Regions from separate parts of the Homo sapiens genome. Here all the other regions are linked to region 1. The links are contacts of gene promoters, found by promoter capture Hi-C in blood cells and fetal thymus (Javierre and others, 2016). All regions are on one chromosome and are shown on one strand. The core of a region is centred on a gene start or on the middle of the fragment in contact, and the rest is flanking DNA. Distances in the headings are between cores, read along the strand shown. Region 1 holds the start of WNT8B (Wnt family member 8B). Region 2 has its middle 2.5 kb from the start of PKD2L1. Region 3 overlaps PKD2L1 (polycystin 2 like 1, transient receptor potential cation channel). Region 4 overlaps PKD2L1 (polycystin 2 like 1, transient receptor potential cation channel).

Region 1 (2,766 bases), core at 120-2,619:
TCAGGGAGACCTTAAGAAAGGTGATGCGGATGCTAAAGTAGAAGGTGTGAAAATAGTTAGAAAGAATGAAGAAGACCTAGTATTCAACAGCACAACAGGGTGACTATCGTCAATAATAATTTCATTGTACATGGTAACTAAGAGTATAATTAGACTGTTTGTAACACAAAGGATTAATGCTTGAGGTGATGGATACTCATTTACCCTGATGTGATTATCATGCATTCATTGTATGCCTGTATCAAAATATCTCATGTACATGTACTCCATAAATATATATACCTACTATGTATCCACAAAAGTTAACTGAAATTTTTTTTAAAAGATGGGGCTATATGGCTACATAGACATCAGTCTGGAGCCCTTTGAGGATCCCCAGTGCTGTGGCTGAGGCCACCCTCCTCCCTAGGGAACAGAAGGAGCAGAGTCCCAGAGAAGTGTGAGCGAGGGCCTGGGTGCCCTCCTGGCTCCGCCACCTGAGTTTAAGAAAGTAGGGATTTTGAGATCACCTTTGTGTGCCTATTGAAATCTCTTTCCTTCTTCGAAACTCAAATTCTACCTTCTTCAGAAAACCTCCCCTAAATAAGCCTACACTATTATAGGCAGTTTGTAGCTTTCTAATACTTTATTAAACTGCGTTATTTTATTGTCACCTTACTAGGCTGTAAATGTTGTTAGGGCAGAAATCATGTTTTGGTTTTTAAAAATTTCCACAATGCCTAGGGTGGTGTTGAGAATAAAATAGGCATTTGGTAAGTAATTGTGTGATGAAAAAGTTGAAAGGAAGAAAAAACCATCGGGCTTCCTGAAGTTTCTAGCCTTTCTAACTTAGACAGAGAATACACTAGATGGTAGGACTGCATCCCCACATTCTCAAATCAGAGGGTGGAGGTTCACCTGCACCTGGTGTATTTTTTTCTGAAAAAACAAAACAAACAAAAAAATGCTATCCTGAATGCAAATTCAGTCTCAAAGTGCTACAGAGGACAACCAGGAAAGCACAGTCCTTTCTGGATCCCTTTTGGGGACCAGGCTGTGTGTGTGTGTGTGTTGTGTGTGTGTGTGTGTGTGTAAGTGTGCATAGGTGGGAAAAGGTTGTGGTGTGATGGGAGGGGATAGGCAAGAGGGAGGAAAGAGACTCCATGCAGTGATTATGTGGAGGGGATTTGCTATGTCTCTTCCCCCCGCTTCTTTCTTTGTCCTCTTTCTCCTGGTCCCCTTCTTCTGCATTTGTCTGGGAGGATCCTGGAGTGTTCTTTTGATCGACTCAATCTTTCTCTGGCACTTGAGTTCTGATTGGCTGAAGGACTTAGAGGGGAAAAAAAACTTTAATTAAGTAGATAATCTCTTCTTTGGACGTTTGGCAGCTCCATTTCACCTCCCCTTAACTCTGTTTGGGATCGCTTACACACCAAGGAAGTTGGGCTTTGAGAATTCCATCCCACTGGCACTGAGGAGAATATTTCTCCGTCTTGCTTACCCATCTCCCAGTTTTTTGGAATTTTCTCTAGCTGTTACTCCAGAGGATTATGTTTCTTTCAAAGCCTTCTGTGTACATCTGTCTTTTCACCTGTGTCCTCCAACTCAGCCACAGCTGGTAAGTAACCTGGACTCTTACCTGGAGCTGGGAATAGGTAAGTGTATGTAATGTGTTGGGTAAAGCTCATTTCATTTCCAGAAATGTAGGAAGCCTTGATAGCTCTCCTAGGAAAAACTGTTCTATGGGGTAGGGCTCTTCCTAAATTTATGGCTGATTTTAGTGAATCTTTAGGACCCCTACCAATAAAGGACTAAATGATGGGAGCGGGGGTTCCTATTTTTATAAATTGCTATTCCACAAATATTCCCCCAAAGTGATTTGGGGGTAAATGGACAGCAGCCCTTTTCACGAAATCCTGATGTCAGCATTGTAGAGAGGAGGAAGGTAGTTCAAAGCAAGTTCTACCGTGTGTTGAATCTGATCTTGAGGTAAAGTCTGGAGACAAAATTCAATGGGATCTTACTTTGTACTTTCTGACTTTATTTTTTTTTTCAGGATATTCTAAGTAATTGCTCAAATTATCATTTCCTAGACATAAAAAATTTTATTTGAACCACTAAGCAGGCATTGGGTTAACAAACATGTTTGAAACCAGATATTTTAGAAATCTAAACGTCTCGAGAAATTTATTTAATTTGTTCAATTTACAAATATTTCTAAATTGTTCAGAAAATCAGATAACGTATATGAAAGTGCTTTGTAAATTATAAACACAAATGCTAAAGAATATCATCACCATTCTCATTTAGCTCTTGGAAACCACATAAACTATCTATACATGCAACTGTTCATTAGCAAATACACCAGTACACAATAACATACAGAATGCAGGTTGCTAGGGTGTTCGGAGTTTCTCTCCAGTTCAGATATGAGCTCAGTCTCTCTCTTCATCAGCTCTCATTTTGACCATCTATTTAACAAAGATATAAATCCAATTGCTACATAAACTGTTGAGGAAGCAGGAAAAGAAATTTCTTTGCTGAGATAAGCTTCCTTTGAGAATTGAAAATACATTTTTATCATAAATGAGTGTAGCCGTCTTTATAGGAGTGTTGATAGGAAGTATGCCAACTTCATAAAACTATTTGCAAGTTAATACAATAATTTGCAACATTTCTGATTATAAGCAGAACCACCAATTAGTCCATTTTTAATTGGCATTTTAATTAAATATTTCAATGTTAAAAAAAAGGTCTCTCTTCTCTCCCCCTCATGAGAACAAAAAG
Region 2 (2,700 bases), core at 142-2,641, 130 kb before region 1:
ATGATGCCCCAGAATGGGGCTGATCCCACAGGTTGTGGTGGTCACCCTGCAGTTTCTCCTCCTTGAGGCTAGAGCAGAGACTTTCCTCTCCTAACTCCTGGCTCCCCACCCAGGGCTACTCACTGGCCTGAAGCCCACCTTCACATTCAGCAAAACATCAGCCTTGTCAAAATAATCAGTCTTGAGTGTCCCTATAAAGAGATCTTGGCTGGGTGTGGTTGCCCACACCTGTAATTCCAGCACTTTGGGAGGCCAGGGCAGGAGGATCACTTGAGCTCAGGAGTTCAAGACCAGCCCGGGCAACATGGTGAAACACCGCCTCTACAAAACAACAACAAAACAACAAAAATTAGCCAGGCATGGGGTGCGTGCATGTAGTCCCAGCTGCTACTCAGGTGGCTGGGGTGGGAGAACCACTTGAGCTGGGGAGGCTGAGGCGTTGAGGCTGCAGTCAGCTGAAATCACACCACTGCACTCCAGCCTGAGCAACAGAGCAAGACCCTGTCTCAAGAAAAAAGAAAGAAAGAAAGATAACAAGTGTTGGCAAGGCTGTGGAGAAAAGGGGCCCCTTGTATGCTTGGCTGTATTGTAAATTAGTACGGACATCTTGGAAAACAGTATGGAGGTTCCTCAAAAAACTAAAAATAGAATTACCATATGTTCCAAGAATCTCAAAGGAATTGAAATCAGTGTGTTGAATAGATGTCTCCTCTCCCATGTTCATTGCAGGATTATTAATAATAGCCAAGATATGGAAACAATCTAAGTATCCATCAACTGACGAAAGGATTTAAAAGATGTGGTATATATGCACAATATAATATATTCAGCCTTGAAAAAAAAAACACAGAAAATTCTGTCATTTACGACAACATAGATAAACCTAGAGAACATTATGTTAAGTGAAATAAGCCAGGCATAATGAGACAGATGCCCTATGCTCTCACTTATATGTGGAAACTAAAAAAATTGAACTCGTAGAAGTAGAGAGTAGAATGGTGGTTACCAGAGGCTGGGGGTGAGGGGTGTGTGAGAGGGGAAGAGAGTGGTCGATGGATAAAAGCTTTCAATCAGGCAAGAGAAATATGTTCTGTTGTTCTGTTGCACAGTGTGGTGACTACAGTTGATAATGAGGTACTGTGTACTTCAAAATAGCTAACAGAGAGGATTTAAAAAGTTCTTACTACAAAGAAATGATAAATATTTGAAGTAATGAATATGCTAATTCACCTGATTTGATCACTCCACAATGTATACATGTATCAAAATGTCACATTGTACCTCATAAGTATATAGAATTATTATTTATCAATTAAAAATAAAATAAAACTTTAAAAAATGGAGCAAATGGGCCAGGCACAGTGGCTAACATCAGCACTTTGGGAGGCCGAGCTTGAGACTAGGAGTTCAAGACCAGCCTGGGCAACAAAGTGAGACCCTGTCTCTACAAAAAAATCAAAAAATTAGCTGGGCATGGTAATGCATGTCTGTGATCCCAAATACACAGGAGGCTGAGGCAGGAGGATTGCTTGAGCCCGGGAGGTCAGGGCTGCAGTGAGCCGTGTTCATGCCATTGCACTCCAGCCTTGGTGACAGAGAAAGAGCTTGTTTCAAAAAAAAAAAAAAAAAAAAGCAGCAGCAGCAAATGGAGGCATGAATAATGTGAGGTAGCCTATTTTAATGGTATAGACACTAAACATTATGAAGTTTAGGGGAAAAGGAAGCTTCCTCTGGAGGAAATGAAACAGAAGCTAGATCTTGATGGATGGGCGAGGTTTGGGAAGGAAGAGCCCCATCAGGTTTGGATGGGAAGGTTTGGAAAAGAAGAGGTTCCTTCTAAGCATAGGAATGATAGGTGGGGTCTTGGGGCTCTGAAGATGTCTGTGATGCCCCTAGGGTTGTAGAAGACTGGCCCTTAGTGCAGTTGGGAGAAAACAGAGGAGGGGGAAGGCCTGAGGTTGCATAACGAGGGTGAGGACCTCTGGTGGTCCCTATTGCCGCCGAGAACTGTGGTGTGCGTGAATCCCTTCAGAGACCATGGAAACTACCAGCTATTCAGAGTGGTTGAAGAACAAAAGGAGGTGGCTTCTGACCAAGTCAGTGGGAAGGAAATGACAAAATAAGAAGAAAAGGAAGGGTTCTTTTTCATTTGGGGCACTCATCCATGCTAATTTTTCATCCATAAAGAAATGAGTAGTCAATCTTTTCATGCTTCCTTTACCAAAAGGTGATTGAATTTATTTTATTAATTCATAGCCTATGTTTAAGGGAAATATATTATTTTGAGATTTTTATTTGTAGTTTAAATGTTTCTTGGGGGGTTGGAGATTTAAGGTAGTCCCAGACTTCTTTTAGATTTTTCCTCCTTATTATAGTTTGTATAAATATTGATCCAACCTAGATATAAGCTATGGGTAGGAGGAATCTTTTTTTTTTTTAACTATAGAACACAGCATTCCAGAAAAACCTCATTTCCATTGGTGAATGGCTATTGGCATACACAAACCTGGCATGTGGTTGAGGAGAAGGGATGCAGCTGACGTGAGAAAATCTTGAGAAGAGAGCCATAATCCCGCTTCCAATTCACTTGAGGTTTTGATGTATGAGGAAAGATGAAAAGAACTGTATGTGGGTAGGCCTGGCTGAAGAGCTAAGGAGTGCAGGTGCATGTGTGTGGGATGGGGTCCTGACAGCCATGTG
Region 3 (2,700 bases), core at 81-2,580, 150 kb before region 1:
GTGTCTACAGAGACTACAACTGAGAGAACTAGATTCACTCACATCTGCTTCAGTAACGAAGTCTATGAGCATTATTAAGCTTTTTAGGGCTTAGGTTCAGAAGATTCTGGTTCTAGAGAACCTATGACACATGGCCAGTTTCTTCTTGGGAAATTAGATTCAGAGCCAAAAGCTTTTATGAGTTGCTGTTGAAGGAAAAACAAACAGACTGATGATGATTATTCTGGAAAAATGGAAATGAATCCAAGATCCTGTTAGTGATCCCCCTGAAGTTTCTAGTAGCTCTGAGATCTTAGCCCAGCTGGAAGAATAGACCTATAGATACTTGTCCATGCTGAATCAATATAATAGAGTCTCTCAGCGGATGGAATACTGAAATCAGATACCTAGAAGACTGGAGATAGGAGTAGAGGACAGGGCATAAGGCAATCAAACAAGGAGGCTGCTGGAACTTCCCTGTTCTATTCCATTCTGAATGCAGAATCCAGGGAGAGCAAAGCAATTGATTCTTATGGATTCAGTATGGCTTTAGCTGATGGCTTGTAAATTCTCATGTGGTTTCAGAATTGCATAAAGAGTTTACGAAGACAGCAATCAAACCAGGAAGTCAACAGTCCTGAGGAAGATGAAGAGTCTTCTTCTCTAGAGTCATCCTGGAAAAATACGGCCCCCTAGATAGCATTGCTTCTGTGTGGCCCAGAAACCTCGAGACATAGCATGAACTTCAGTTAATGTCATAAGAGATAAGGTAACATTTCTGCAGCTATGGTCTCTGCGAAGGAGGGCACACTGTTTCAAAAGAGCTGAAGACACCAACTGTAGTAAAACGTAAAAGTCCTGTCTTTGTACAGGGATTTTTCTGGCTGATGAGGCAGCGGTGATTCCACACGCTCCTGTAGAAGGTTACAGAGGAAGAGTTGCACTTGCTCTTACTGTCCTTCTTTGAGCTATTTTGCTCAAGATCTCCCAGAGACTGGTCATTTTGGAAAAACTAAAGCTACAAAGAGTATACTAGTGCTGAGACCCGGAGACTTTTTGCTGCCTAAATCTAGCTGAACCAAAAAAATGTATTTAGTGCTAGAAACCAAGGAAGCCTGAGAAGAGTAGCCCTTGTTAAAAGGTGCCCAAGCTGGAGTCTTTGAACATATGGACCCAGAAAAGACAGGAAACCAGGCAGGAAAAACCTAGTGATTACATACACAAGGGGTCACCCCAATTGGATTGCCAGTTTCATGCACTGTCTTAACAAATGATAAGGGAGCGGTAACTAAGTTAATAGAGTTGGTAATTAGTGATTTTACTATACAGAAGTCCTGGCTTTTACCTGTAATTGTGCAGTATAAGCTACCTGGATCAATAAGATTCTGTGAGGATTACAGGATAATCAACACCATGACCGAACCATATGTTCATCCAATGCCAATAATCGATTCTCTCTGGAGTTACTGGGTCTACCCTCAACATTTTGAGGAGTGCAAACAGTTTTCATTTATTTGAGTTATATCTATCTACCCTCAATAGACCCTTTAACTCCAGAGAGAATTGATTACTGGCATTGGTTCAATAACCAATCAATAATTCATCATTGTTTCATGAAGTGTTGCAAAATAAAGGCCATCCAAGAAGACTTTACGCAGACAGATTTGGTCACCCCAGAGAGATACATCACCTTCTTTACCAAGGGCTTTCTCTCTCAGTACACAACAGGAGGCTCTCAAATGGTTCCATATAAAGGGAAATCATATTTAAGTAATTAATAGTTGCTTGATTTATAAACAATTTATTTGTAGGTAATTTTTTCATTTTAGTAATAGAGATGGGGCTTTGCTAGGTTGCCCAGGCTGGTCTTAAACTCCTGGACACAAGCAATCCTCCCACAGACTGCTGGGATTACAGGCGTGAACCACCATGACTTGCCTGCAAATAATTTAAACAGAAACTATGTTATCACCACTTGGAAGGGTATGAAATTCCTGAAACACCTTTATCAAACTTTTCCTGGGGTTCAAGAACCAAAAGTGGAAAATATGATTCCCTGGAGTTCCCAGCAGGGAGAGCCCTTTAAAAAAAAATCTCAAGAAGCCATAGGCTTGTACCCAGAACAGGAAGACATGGAAAAGCCTGTGAGACAAAGGACCAGGGAGAAAAGAAGAGGAGTCAAAAGCTGTGGGCAGAGGTAGGCGAGAAGAAAGCAAAACAGACCAGTGCCTGGGGAGAGAGAAGAGAGAGAAGGAAGCAGGCACGGGGACAGCCAGTCCAGGACCGAGAAGTATCCAGCAAGAAGCACTGTTTCTGATCCTGGGCTTCTCTGCAGTGTGATTTATCTTTCACAAAGTGCATCCAGAGATCCTCCTTCACTGACTTTATTGCCATTAGCCATCAGCACTTTAGGGGAGCCTCCTATACTACATTTATCACAATCAGCGGACGTTCCACCTCACAGACGGCATTGCTGTTGACTTTACACATCCTTCTAGTGTAAACCAACAGAAGCTTCTTTATCTAAAATTCATGTATATTTATATATGTCTAGAAAACAATTGAAATGGGCCGGGTGCGCTGGCTAGCCTGTAATCCCAGCACTTTGGGAGGCTGAGGTGGGTGGGGATCACCCAAGGTCAGGAGTTCAAGACCAGCCTGGCCAACATGGTGAAACCCCATCTCTACTAAAAATACAAAAATTAGCCAGGCGTGTTGGTG
Region 4 (2,791 bases), core at 281-2,780, 170 kb before region 1:
GTGGTGGGTGCCTGTAGTCCCAGCTACTCAGGAGGCTGAGGCAGGAGAATCACTTGAACTCAGGAGGTGGAGGTTGCAGTGAGCCAAGATCGCCCCCACTTCACTCCAGCCTGGGCAAGAGCGAGACTCCATCTCAAAAAAAAAAAAAAGAAAAAAAAGAAAAGAAAAGAAGGGAGAATGAGTGCGCCTTGAAGCAAAGCTGGGTGTGGGAATCCCAGGTACCTTGATCCAGGCGAAGAAGAGGTTGACAGCATTCATGTTGTTGTACTGTGTCTGCCAGAAGGCGAGGAACTCAAAGTCTGCATACGTGTTTGGCTGCTGCAGGAGCTTCCCCATGAGCCGATTCACCTCGAGGGTTCGGAATATGTGGAAGCCCACAGCCACAATGGAGAGCTGTCACACAGGGGTCATGGGGGTGTCAGAGAAGGCAAGGGGATCTCAAGGGAAGTTCCAAGATGAGGCCCCAAGGGAGAGTCAGGGTAGGTAAGACAGGTGGGAAAAAAGCCATCCTTGCTGACTTGTTCACTATCTCAGTTTCAAATGGAACTTGGTAGGATGACTGGGGAGCATCTTAAGTGTTCCAAAGCCCAAGAGAAGGCATTGGGGACAATGGTAAATATTAATGTATAGATTGTAAAGGGCTGTAGGGAACTGGAACCAGTCATTTCCTTCCGCTCCCACCACTTCCAAGCTTTGGTCAGGAATTGAATGTGTCTTGTTAATAGGAGGGAGATGAAGATGAAGGGGCAGAATATTTGAATAGAAGACAAAAGGCATGGGTTTCCACAGAACAGGTCATAAAGACAAAAGACAAGAGAGGAGCAGAATATAGTACACTAAAAAAAAAAAACACAGGGCTCAGATGACAGGTGAGGAGGAGAGGAGATGTGAGAGACAGGGTTTCCCAAGGGCTGAGAGAGGGGAACATGTCCCTCTCACTTAGGGAGCTGTTAAATGATGATTTGACCAAAAGTCAGAAGGAGGGCTTAGGGCTCCAAAAGGAAGAACCTGGAGCCCCTATTAGGGTGGAACTCCCTCCTCACCCCAGAATGTCCCAAGTCCTAGATATCTGTCCCTCACCAAGATGACCACCAGGTCCAGTATGTTCCAGATGCTGCTGAGGTAGCGAAGCCGGTGAATGTGGAGCTCCAGGATCTCTTCCACCACATAGTAGAAGATGAAGACGCAGAAGATGACCTCACAGCCAACGATAAAGAAGTCCCAGTTGCTGACATAGCGGATCAGCTTGACTGTGCGGATTTGCCAGGATGGGATGGCACCTCCTGTAGCTGGAAACTCCACCACCAGCCTATAGGGGGAGGGGGAGATGACCTCCAGTGGAGCCTTCGCTGGGACGGCTCCTCCCACTTCCTCTCCTCTCCACCCCCACCACAGGGTAGGAGTTTAGGGAAGGGTCTCATGCACAAGAGACGGGAACCAGGAGCCATGGACAGGGTGATAAAGTAGGGAAAGGGGGCTCACCTCAGGACACAGAAAAGATTGATATTGGCATTGTAGACTGAGAAGTCGATGAACACCACTCGAGTGCCCCTGTCCAGCCACAGCCCCTCCTGAAGGGCCCGGAGAGCCTCTGCACTACCCTGTCGGGATCCTGGAAGGTCCAGGTAGTAGCCACCTCCGCTGTAGCTTGTGAGCCTGCCCCAGTGGGAGAAGCCCCCCAACTCATCCTGCGAGTGGTATGTCCACCTGCCACAGAAAATGCCAGCTGAGCCAGCCCAAAAGTTCATCTCCCAAGGCAATGGCAATGCTTTATCATTGTCTGGGCTTTACAGGTTTACATATTGTGTGTGTGTGTGTGTGTGTGTGTGTGTGTGTGTGTGTGTGTATGAGATATGTGATATATACATATATAATGTATCATTTATTATTCTGTTTGATACTAACAACCATTTGAGAAGGGAGAGTGAATATTATCCACATTTTGCAGAAGAGGAAACTATGAAAGAGGTTACCGAGATAATCCAGCTATAAATGACAGAACTGAAACTCAAATGTAAATCTGATTTTTCACTATGTCACTCAAAGATTTGGATGACAAAGCCAAGCCCCACTTTTGGCCCACCTTGAATAGTCCCCCTAAGGGAAGCACCTGGACCAGGAGGAAAAGATCCTCCAGCTCTGTGATTGCACATCAGGCTCCTTCACCCCATGTTTCTCCATTCTATCCACTAAACTTTCTACCCTGGGTGCTTATTTCCTCCCTCTTCTGTCCTGTCCACCCTTTCCCCCTTCCTCCCTAATTTGTCATCCATCCTTGACCCCTTGCTGCTCCACGTATCAATCTCAAGGGTTGGGTTCTTCAATTTCACCCATTTTGTATACCCCTAACCAACTTCTAGGCAAGAAAGGAAGCTTTCCCTGGAAGGACTACGTGCAAGGTAGGACAAGTGTGATTGCAACCTGTCTGTGGGAACAAGTCTGGAGGCTATTGCTGTGTTTGCTAACCTACCTCCTCTGTTCCTGAGTGACACAGACCAAGGTCCCCAAACAGTCACAGCTGGGATTCAGGGAGATGCCCCCAGAAGTCCCTTAAAGAGCTCTGAGGCTCTTTAAGCCTCAGTGGAAGTGGTTCCCAGACCTTGGGATGGTGTCAGGTTTAGAGGGGCAAGCCCTGTGATATTGGTAGGACAGGCTCACTCACGCTGTGCCATTGAAGGGCCCAAAGGGGAGTTGTTCTTCTTTGTCTGGAGAGTAGACATCATAGCAGCTCAGAATGTCCTCCCGGAAGTCTTCATGCACCACACAGGAGTCATTGCGGACCTTTAGCTGC

The links. The method cuts DNA at HindIII sites, captures the fragments that hold promoters and counts their contacts. A CHiCAGO score of 5 or more calls a contact.
Region 2: a fragment that was not itself captured here is called in contact with the fragment with the promoter of WNT8B in region 1 in 6 of 17 cell types (total CD8 T cells, naive CD8 T cells, activated CD4 T cells and 3 more); the score reaches 7.3 in total CD8 T cells.
Region 3: a fragment that was not itself captured here is called in contact with the fragment with the promoter of WNT8B in region 1 in 4 of 17 cell types (total CD8 T cells, activated CD4 T cells, total CD4 T cells and 1 more); the score reaches 6.1 in total CD8 T cells.
Region 4: a fragment that was not itself captured here is called in contact with the fragment with the promoter of WNT8B in region 1 in 2 of 17 cell types (endothelial precursors and M1 macrophages); the score reaches 5.7 in endothelial precursors.

What each region holds. Positions count from the first base shown.
Region 1 is chr10:100,461,640-100,464,405 of GRCh38, forward strand. It overlaps WNT8B (Wnt family member 8B), which reads left to right and starts at 1,370. Exons shown (of 6, transcript NM_003393.4): 1 at 1,370-1,597. The coding sequence starts at 1,530. The HindIII fragment of the contact is 5,936 bases long and covers 1-2,527 here.
Region 2 is chr10:100,331,331-100,334,030 of GRCh38, forward strand. No RefSeq gene overlaps it. Among named protein-coding and RNA genes, the nearest start is that of PKD2L1, 2.5 kb to the left of the region's middle. The HindIII fragment of the contact is 661 bases long and covers 1,062-1,722 here.
Region 3 is chr10:100,312,205-100,314,904 of GRCh38, forward strand. All of the region lies in intron 2 of PKD2L1 (polycystin 2 like 1, transient receptor potential cation channel), which reads right to left. Among named protein-coding and RNA genes, the nearest start is that of PKD2L1, 17 kb to the right of the region's middle. The HindIII fragment of the contact is 2,321 bases long and covers 171-2,491 here.
Region 4 is chr10:100,295,900-100,298,690 of GRCh38, forward strand. It overlaps PKD2L1 (polycystin 2 like 1, transient receptor potential cation channel), which reads right to left. Exons shown (of 16, transcript NM_016112.3): 4 at 2,663-2,791; 5 at 1,483-1,707; 6 at 1,081-1,309; 7 at 223-393. Among named protein-coding and RNA genes, the nearest start is that of BLOC1S2, 11 kb to the left of the region's middle. The HindIII fragment of the contact is 1,682 bases long and covers 690-2,371 here.